Regions from separate parts of the Homo sapiens genome. Here region 2 is linked to region 1. Evidence: promoter capture Hi-C in human tissues and cell types (Jung and others, 2019). All regions are on one chromosome and are shown on one strand. The core of a region is centred on a gene start or on the middle of the fragment in contact, and the rest is flanking DNA. Distances in the headings are between cores, read along the strand shown.

Evidence for each region. The method cuts DNA at HindIII sites, captures the fragments that hold promoters and counts their contacts. A contact is called where the count stands out against the background at its distance.
Region 2: a fragment that was not itself captured here is called in contact with the fragment with the promoter of MBP in region 1 in 2 of the 25 tissues and cell types used here (heart left ventricle and lymphoblastoid cells).

The regions. Positions count from the first base shown.
Region 1 is chr18:77,131,264-77,135,519 of GRCh38, forward strand. It overlaps MBP (myelin basic protein), which reads right to left and starts at 1,520. Exons shown (of 9, transcript NM_001025101.2): 1 at 1,317-1,520. RefSeq lists a silencer at 485-1,784. The HindIII fragment of the contact is 18,599 bases long and covers 1-4,256 here.
Region 2 is chr18:77,484,565-77,490,552 of GRCh38, forward strand. No RefSeq gene overlaps it. Among named protein-coding and RNA genes, the nearest start is that of GALR1, 240 kb to the left of the region's middle. The HindIII fragment of the contact is 3,373 bases long and covers 1,650-5,022 here.

The DNA.
Region 1 (4,256 bases), core at 270-2,769:
GGACCTGCTCAATCCATACGGTCCCCTGACTTGAGGGTGACCGTCCTTAAACTGTCCCCCGGAGCTTCGCCAGATAAAATGTCCAAAACACACACTGGAGTTCCCTGACGTTTCCTTCCTCTGAAAAACTCTCTTTCCAGGCGGGGCGTTCTGTGGTCAGACGAGGCAGAGGCCTCCCCGGAACGAAGTCCACGCCCCCTCCCCACCCCAGCACCCAGCGAGCCCACGCGCCCCTCACCCACGCGCAGAGAAACCGAGCACTTGTTGATTCTCACGTTGTTGCAATTGGAAAACGGAACAAGGAACCAGAGCTCGCCTGTTTCCAGCCAGAGTCGCACGGGGGTCCCCAAAGACGCTTGAACCTTTTCCCAAGCCCCACTCCACCTTCCAAAACGGGGGGGCTCAGGTGGACGCGAAAGGACACAAGGCGCTGCCCCCAGCACCCCGGAAAATCTAGTGTGGCGGCAAATGACCGCAGGTCACACACCCCGGCCTCGGGGGCCACGGAAAACGGACGCACCCGGCCCAGGACAGGCAGTGGGGCCCAGGAGGGGACTGCCGGGAAGACCCGGGCGGGCCGGCGGGCGGCTGCGGGCGGCGCACGTGGGCCCAGGTGGGCGCAGCGACGGGCCCGGCCGAAGAGCCCGAGACAGGCCCTGCGAAGGCGGAAGCCCGGACCCGGGCTCTCCTGGCCGCCCCTGGAGCTCAGAGGGAGACTGCGCTTCGCCCCGGGGGCAGGGGCAGGAGCGCGATCGCGCGCGGGGCCCCCGGGGTGTGATTAGCAGGCGCCGCGAGCCGGGAGGACCCCCCAGCCCGCCCTGGCAGCCAGCACCCTCTCCACACCCGCCCAGAGTGGCCGCTTTTGACCGCCGTCCCCTCCCACCCTAGACTCCTCCCCTCAGCCCCACGGCCCGAGGCCGAGCGGTTTCAGCGACCCTGGGACCGCCGGGCCTGGCTGGAGTCCACCCCTGGACACCTGTCAGGGTCGGGCCCCGGCGCTGTAAACCCGCGTCTACACCCGCGCCCAGCCCCCGCGCAATGGGGATCGGGGGCGGCGACTTGGGTTCGGGTCAGGGAGGCCGCCGGCTGCTACCTGCTCGGCCACCTGCTCCGCTGCCTAGGTTCTCCCTGCGCGTCCCCAGCCAAGAAAGGGACCCGGAGTCCGGGCGTCGGGATAGCTCCTGTCCCCGATCTTGCGCCCCCGGCTCCCGCGGGGCTCCGGTCCGGGGTCCCGCCCAGGTCTCCGCGGTCCCCACTCGGAGGGGCACAGAGACAAAGGCGGCAGAGCAGCCCGCCCGTCCCCGAGGGTCACCCACCGGCGCTGCGCTCGTTGCTCCGAGGCCGAGGGGCGCCGCGGGGTCCAAGGCCCTGCTCCGCCTGCCCAGGCCCGGGCAGGCTGGTCTCGGCTTCAAGCGCCCACGCGCGGGGTCCCCGGGCAGCCTGCTTCGCCTTCCGGGGTCGGGAGACAGGGGCCGCCGGGGCCGGAGGCTGCTTCTCTCTGGCGCGCGGCGGCGGTGACTGACGGCGGCGGCTCCGAGGGACGGGCGCGCACCCAGCTCCCCGGCCCCGCCTCCCCGGGCTTCCTGCGAGCCAGGTAAACACAGGCCGATCCCGCCGGGCCCGCCCCACCTGGACGCGGCCGCCGGCGCCGCCCCGGGAGCTCGGAGGACCCCGGGCCCGCTCTGCCCACGCGGAACTTGGGGGGCGCACGGGGCCCACGCGCAGGGTCAGACCTCGGAGGGGCGGCCTGGAGCCTCGCCCGCTGCCGAACTGGGCTCCGAACTGCGGCCCGTCGACCCTTCCCGTTCGGAGGCTTGGCCTCCGAACCCACCCCGACCCCGACCTCGACCTCGCGGGAGGGGTGCCAGGCCGCATCTCCCCGCGTCCTCAGGGGCTGGAAACCCCAGAAACTGCCGATAGACTTGGCGCAGCCCCGGCCCTGCAGGAGGAGAGTCAGCCCGGCCTGGAGGCGAAAGGAGCCGGCAGGTCCTCCCAAGGCACTCCCTCCCTCCCCTGGAGCCCAGGCCAGGCCCATGTCCGGCTGGCAGGTGCTCCTCTGGGAGCTGGGAGCTGGGAGCTGGGAGCTAGGGGCGCACCTTCTCCTGCAGGACCGGCGCAGGAAGCGTGCGCGGAAAAGACAGCAAAACACGCGCAGGTGCGAGGAAGCAGCCTGGTCCTGCAGCCCAGAGACATCGTGGTCTTCGTCGCTGTCTTGTTAAAAAGAAAAAGCCTGCTGTTTAGCCGTGACTCACCTGCACACAGATTTAGTGGTCAGAGATCTTTCTCTGGATTCTCAGCCTCCTGATGGTGGAAGAGGAGGAGGTTGGGGGAGTCCCAGAATGAGGCCCCGCGTTCCTCCTGACCTACACCCCCAGTCAGGGATCTGGATCTGGAGCTTCCAGGGGACCTGGAGCAGCCTGGGACCCACACAGTTTGTTAGGAAGTGAGGGAGAGGGGTGAGCGCTGTCCCGGCCCGCGCTGGGAGGCGGGACTCAGACTTCAGCACGGGGTCGGGGTTTCGGCCTAAAACCAGCCTCCCCCAAAGCCCCGGAGGATTTAGCAACTGTCTTCAAATGCTGGCAACTGGAAGAGAAATACTTCCACAACGACGCAAAAGCATTCAGTCTGGTCGTTTCCTCAGGAGAGATTTTCAAGTGGAGGGGGCAGGAGGGTTCTGAGACTTTGAGGCTGAAGGTGAGGAGGGAAAAGGGTGCCAAAGATAGTGTGTTTCTCCAATTTTTCTGCCCCACAACCTCACTTTAAGTCAAGGATGAGCGGAGTGGGCGTGGGAGGCTGGACAGCTGCCCTAGGAGCACGGGTGGTGACAATGAACCCGGGTGCACCCAGGTCCCAGCTCAAGTCACTCAAAGCTCAGGCTGGGGAAGCTGGAACACTAAAATGGGTCCCATTTTAGATACCTGCTTTAGCATCAGAAACAGCTTTTCCTCCCCAAAATATCTCTTGGCTTTATCTCAGTGACTCCACAGGGCGGGGCCACCTTCCTGCCTGCAGATGTCCCTGTGTGCTGGGCTCTGGAGCGTCCCTCAGGCCACAGTGACAGCTGCACACGCGGCCTTCTGTTTGGTGCTCCTTCTGCTGGTGTTACAGTGGTTTCCTGAAACACTACATATGCCAACAGTCAGCCCTACAAATGTCAGGCTCCACAAGTTCCAGTTAAAAGTCTTTTTAAAGTATTTATGAAATTTCACCGTGCATATTTTGTTGGGATAGAGTGTCCACACAGATGGGCAGCCAGGCAGTTTAGAAAAGTCATGGATTCTTCAAAGAAAACATGTAGATAATACTATTTAATAAAACAGTGGATTCACATTTGGATCAACTGGTCTTATCTTGGGGGCTTTCATGCCCTCCCGGTTAGAAAAAGGACCCCAGGTTGAGGACAGTGGATGGAAGAAACAGAGGCTGGCATTTCACTGTCGAGAGACAAACTTTCACATGAAGATGTCCATGTAGCCCTCAGCAAAGTGACAGAGATTCGTTGTGCTGAATAAAATTGAAAGGCATCTTTTGACAAGTAACCCATCAAAGCCTCATTGTGTCTTTGACATTTCTAAGAAAATCACATTGCAGTTACCCCCATCTTTCACAAGGTACCGGAGAGCAGAAAGTTTGACCTATCCATCATCTCATATGGCAGCAAATAGCAAAATGTTTTGTGCATGAAATACACTCAATAAATTTTTGTTAAGCTGAATTAAACTCCAAATTACCCAAGCTAAAGGAAGTAAATGAATCTAAATAGTTTCCAACAGACCTCAGACTGCACGAACTTTGAGTTTTCTTTAGTTTCCTCATCAACAGATTTGTCTTTGTTATGATGTTTTGCTTAGGAAAGGACTGAACTTTTTTTTTTCTTTCTTTTTTTTTTTTAGATGGAGTCTTGCTCTGTGGCCCAGGCTGGAGTGCAATGGTGCAATCTCAGCTCACTGCAACCTCCGCCTCCCAGGTTCAGGCAATTCTCCTGCCTCAGCCTCCCGAGTAGCTGGGATTATAGGCAACCGCTACCATGCCCAGCTAATTTTTGTATTTTTAGTAGAGATGGGGTTTCACCACGTTGGCCAGGCTGTTCTCGAACCGCTGACCTCAGGTGATCCACCTGCCTGGGTCTCCCAAAGTCCTGGGATTACAGGCCTGAGCCACCACGCCCGGCCAGGACTGAATATGATTTTCAGACCTGGTCTAAACCTCTCTGAGCCTCAGTCTCTTCATCTGCAGTGTGGAGGTAATAGTCATCC
Region 2 (5,988 bases), core at 2,086-4,585, 360 kb after region 1:
CAGCTTTATGTAAACTTAAATTCATCCTTATTTTTAACAATATAAACATTTATCCCAGCACTTTGGGATGCCAAGGTGGGCAGATCACCTGAGGTCAGTAGTTTGAGACCAGCCTGGCTAACATGGTGAAACCCCTTCTCTACTAAAAAATAAAAAATTTAGCCGGGCATGGTGGTGCATGCCTGTAATCCCAGCTACTTGGGAGGCTGAGGCAGGAGAATCGCTTGAACCCAGGAGGCAGAGGTTGCAGTGAGCTGAGACCACGCCATTGGACTCCAGCCTGGGCGACAAGAGTGAAACTCTCTCTCATAAAAACAAAAACATTATCACCCAATATTTTCATAGCCTTTTGGCACAACTTTAACTTTAGATGAAACAAATCACTTGCTGCACTTGAGGTTACTGGTACCACTGGGGTTCTTGGCTACTTGCTTAGGTTGGGTTCCCTAGAAGCAGATCCTGGACAGAGGTCTTTGCAGGTGATCTAACATGGAAGTATTCTCAGGCAAAACAAGCAGAGCCAGGAGACACTAAACAAAGCCTGGCAATAACTGAAGGCTAGCCTCAGTGTGATTCCAGGGGGAGCTCCGAGGCGTGCCTGGGTCTGCTGCTGCATCCCTGTGTTAGTCGTGGTTGGCTGTGGACTCCCCCAGGTTGCAGGAGAGTACACTTCTAGGCATGTCATGGTGAGGTAGCTCCTAGTAGCTGCAGGCAATTCTTCAGAGAATAGTACAACTGTGAGCCTGCAGCAGCCAACTCCAGCACAGCTCTAGAAATGGGGGTGGGTCGTGTCTCTTTATAGTCACCGACTCCAACTGTGTGCTCAACGCTACCTAATAATCATACTATAATTCTAATGCTCACTCACTGAAGGGTTGTCTATAAGGACTGTTTTAAACCTTCTGGACCTTGTTAAACCTCCAGTTCCTCAGCACACACACCCTTCCTTCTCCCCAGATGGCCTTGGGCCTTGCTTTACAGAGAAAATAGAAGCTGTCAGGCAAAGAAACCCTCAACTTGCTGGCTCCAAATCCATCCTTCCCTGGCATCTGTGCCCACACCGCCTTCCTGCTCCCTGGTTAAATGGGAAAATGGGACACCTGGCCCCTCCCCACCCCACACACCTGTGGGAAGACAGCGCATTCACTTCTGCTGGGGGCCAGACCCTCACGGCTTTGAGGAAACCATGCCCCTCTGTTTTATCTTCAATGTTGCCCTCCCTCAGATCCTTTTCCTATTAGCATCTTGAAACTTACAGGTTTTGTACATCTCATGAACAATACCCAGTGATCCTCCAAGGAAATCCGCATACCTCTCCAGGGCCTGTCCTGTTTGGCTCCTCCCCTTTGCAGCAGTCCATTTCCTCACTGCTTAACAAGTTTGAATGCTGCTAATTCCCCACTGAGCCTGAGCAAGCCAAGAGAGAAGTCACGGATGTGGACACACCCTAAGGTGTCTCCTGGTCATCCTACCTACTACCATCTACACCTCTGTCCTACTCCCTGCCCTGGAGTGTGAGCCAGGTTGGTGACTTGCTACTTACAAATCGATGACAACAAAGGTGATGGTTTGCCCACATGCTTAGGTTCTGTAACCTGACAGGGGTGATAGGCTGTCCCTCCTGTGCGTATATCACATTAAATAAGACTCTGTGAGGGCAGATGAGCTGGAGCCATCTGTGGGCTGCATGGAGCTGAAAGTCATGCTGGAAAAGTGCACGTGGCTGGTGGCTGTGAGCTCTGGGGAGTCTCTAGGGCCCAAGGGTGGCACCCTCCTAATAGCCCTTGGTTGTACAACCATAAGGAAAGGTATTCTGCCAGCAACCTAAATGAGCTCAGAAATGGATTCTTCCCCAGCTGAGCCTTCAGATGATAATGTAGCCCAGCCAATGCCATGCTTTCAGCCTTGTAAGATCCACAGCAGAAGATCCAGATAAACACATGAATGAAAGTTGGAAAATTTACATTCATGAAAAAAGCATGAAAAACGGTGGCTTAGTTCAGAGTACTGAGTTCAGAGTAATTTATTTAGCAGCTCTACATCCTTAAATTCCAGGTGCGATTTTTCATGTGCATTCCATCATTCACTCATTTGTACATTCACATGAAAAAAGCAGCTCAAGATTTATCTCAGAGTAATTCAGATCAGCCACGCTTCTTTTAAAGTGTGATTTAACTAAGACCTGCATAAGGAAGATAAGAATTTCTGGTGATGAATACCAGCTGTAGAGTATTCCGCACATGAAGATGGGACAGTTCCATGTCATCAGTTACATTGCTTTGAAATAAATAATGAACAGATTGCTCATATTGACTGGCTGGAGGGAAGGCCCATGAAGGCAGGTATCATTTTAACCTCAGGACAACACCGGCCTTCAATCACTGCAGTGAGAGATATGTAAGTCAAGGAGGAGCTATGCAAAATACTGAGTTTGTGTAACGCAAAGTTATGAATTTTAGAAACCTGCATCCTTCAATTTATCCTAATAGCAAAACAGGCTCAGTGCCAGTCACTTTGCTGAGAGTGAGACATGATGCTAAGAACTGTGAAAACAGGAAAACAATGAACAGCTGAAAAGAGAAGACCAGCAGTATGTGGGTAATGAGTCAATCATGCTGGGCATACACTAAACATGTCCTGGTGTCACTGCTAGGAAATAAACGTTGCCAATGACTATGAGCCTGAGTCATTCATTCTAATAAGTGTTCTTGATAGAAAACGCAGCCAAGTAGGCAGCAATTTTAGAGAATTTTCAATCTCTAAATTTTGAATTGTGAAGAACAACAAATTTTGCTTATTAAATGGGCATCATGTTAGTTTTCTACTGCTACAGGAACAAATTACCACAAACTGAACAGCTTAAAAAACACAGGGTTATGTTCACCTGAGAGTTCTGCAGGTCAGAATGCTGGGCGATGCTCCTCTCCAAAGGTTCTGAGAAAGAATCCACTCAGGATGCTGGCAGAATTCAGTTCCACGCGGTTGTAGAACTGAAGCCCTTGTTTTGTTGATGGCTGTTGTCTTCACAATGCCTTTAACTTTTAGAGAAAATGTTTTATTTTCTCTGTTTCTTAGTAGTTCCTTCGTTTTTCTGGCTATTTGGTGTGGCTTCTGTCTCTGCTATTGGACCCTGGCATCTGAGTGTTCTTCCTTAGGAAGCAATGCAAAGCCATTAGGAACGCCGTCTGCAGGGGTGAGCACGTGGCCTGCAACCTTCAATGTCATGTGTCTCTTTTTACTTGAGTCACCCAAATGCTTGGGTATGTTTGCCTTTTGGTGGTGGTTGGGTATCTCTGAGAAAGAGCTTCCAGTTTCTTGCTTTGGGGAGAGCCTGGCAGCTTTGGTTGGGGAGACAGGGAGGTCCCTGTTCCAATCTTTCATCTCCAGCTGCTTGGTTTTTCACTTGCTGATTGTGTGTGTGTTTGTAATGTCCTCTTGGTGTGTGTTTGTAATGTTCTTTTGCCTTCCTCAGTGTCTAGATATGGAGGATTTCTGATTGAGTGCCTTTAGAAACTATACTTTTCGTCTCCTGAGGGTTGGGGAGGGGTGGTTCTAACCACCCCTTCAGCAGAAACTGGCTGCTCTAGTTACTTGGCTATTTTCCTGTTCTCCAGGTGAGCTGGCTTCCTCCTAATGGTTTCGGAGACATTCAAGCTTCATCTTCCTTTGTTCTGCTAACTCATTTACTGTTTCAACTTTTTTTGCTTCATAAATTTGGTACTGGGCTACAAACGTCTCCTTGTGTCATTGAAGATGGTGTTTATATGTTTTGTTCATAATTCTCTTTTATTTGGGGGTGAAATAAAAGACTATATAGGTTTTTACCTCATCATCATGAAGCAAATGAAGCTTGACTTCATTTTACAGGTGAAGAACCTGATATTCAGAAAGACTGGATGATCTTCACAAGGTCACACAGCCGTTTGTAGGTTTCTGGTTTCTCAGTCTTTGTGTGATATGCGCTTACAGACTTGACAGTAACTTTCAGTTCCTTTCATTCAGCCGCTGGTTGCCAGATGGAAGTGACCATACACATGGGAAATGAAATTTAAACTACAGAACAGGGTATTGCATGAAGGCAAATTTATATTCTGATAAACAACCTGACCAATGTTAGGCTATTAGTCCTTCCTTCCTTTCTTACAGCGCTCTTCAAAACTCAAATACTGCCTAGAAAAGTATATGTAGGTATAAATACATAAACCATTTGAATGCATAAAAATTGTATGGGATTTCTTAAATTTGCACATGGGACTTTGAAAGACTTTCATATTTCTTGAGAAGGTTATTGCAAAGCCTGAACAGAATTACTCCTTGATCACAGGACCTGGCAAAGACTTTATGACAAAGATGCAAAAAGCAATTGCAACAACAAAAAATTGACACCTGGGATCTAATTAAGGAGCTTCTGCACAGCAAAAGAAACTATCAACAGAGTAAACAGACGACTTAGAGGATGGTAGAAAATATTTGCAAACTATGCACATGACAAAGGTCTAATATCCAGAATCTATAAGGAACTTAAACAAATTTACAAGCAAAAACTAACCCCATTACAAAGTGGGCAAAGGTCATGAACAGACACTTCTCAAAAGAAGACATACAGATGGCCAACAAGCATATGCAAAAATGCTCCACATCACTAATCATTAGAGAAATGCAAATCAAAACCATGGTGAAATACCATCTCACACCAGTCAGAATAGCTATTATTAAAAAGTCAAATAATATCACATGCTGGTGAGGTTGTGGAGAAAAGGGAGCCCTTATACACTGCTGGTGGGAATGTAGATTAGTTCAGCCATTGTGAAAAGCAGTTTGGTAATTTCTCAAAGAACTTAAAACATTCGACCCAGAAATCCCATTATTATACCTAAAGGAATATAAATTATTCTATCATAAAGACACACTTGCAAATATTCACTGCAGCACTATTCACAATAGCAAAGACAAGGAATAAACCTAGATGCTCATCAATGGTAGATTAGATTAAAAAATGTGGTACATATGCACCGTGGAATACTATGCAGCCATAAAAAGGAATGAGATCATGTCCTTTGCAGCGACATGGGTGGAGCTGGAGGACCTTATTTTAAGTGAACTAATGAAGGAAACAGAAACCTATTACTGCATGTTCTCCCTTATAAGTGGGAGCTAGACATTGAGAACATATGGACACAAAAAGGGAATAACAGACACCAGGGCCTACTGGAGGGTGGAGGGTGGGAGGAGGGAGAGGATCAGAAAGCTACCTATCAGGGACTATGCTTATCACCTGGGTGACGACACAATCTGTACACCAAATCCCTGTGACACACGATTTACCTGTATAACAAGCCTGCACATGTTCCCCGGACCTGAAATAAAAGTTAAAAAGCAATTGCTCCTTGGTGAAATTACCACAAGGATTCTGATGTTCCTTTGCTTTTCTCCTCCCCTTACCTCCTTCCCATGAATCCTCAGCCACGGACCCCCCTGCCTGGCATCCAGGGCCCTCTCCCGCTCTTCGTGGTGTCAACATATTTGCTAGGATGGTTCTTTTAACATCAAAAAACAAATCTCTAGTGCTGTATGAAATCTTCAGTGCCCTCACATCTCAGAAATGCTTATCACTGTTGTCACAAGCTGATCACAAAGATCAATGTCTCAACCAAGCTCAGAGCCAGTCTCCCTGAGTTGATGTGGAGGTCCTTGTGGTCTCATTTGTCTTTGTGTCATGTCACCAGCACAGTACTGGAGCTTGGCCTGTGGGTAGCCATGCCGTGATGTCATTAAGGGAGTGACGGGGTGTGTTTCCTTATGCCTGTGGTCCTGGGGGATCAGGGCAGAGAGGGAAGGTTATGTGACTAGTGCCTATGGTACGCACATTTACCTACTGCGTTAGGGGTGGAAAGTGTGAGTGATTGTGTTAGGAGTGGAAAGTGTGAGTGATTGTGTTAGGAGTGGAAAGTGTGAGTGTGTTAGGAGTGGAAAGTGTGAGTGATTGTG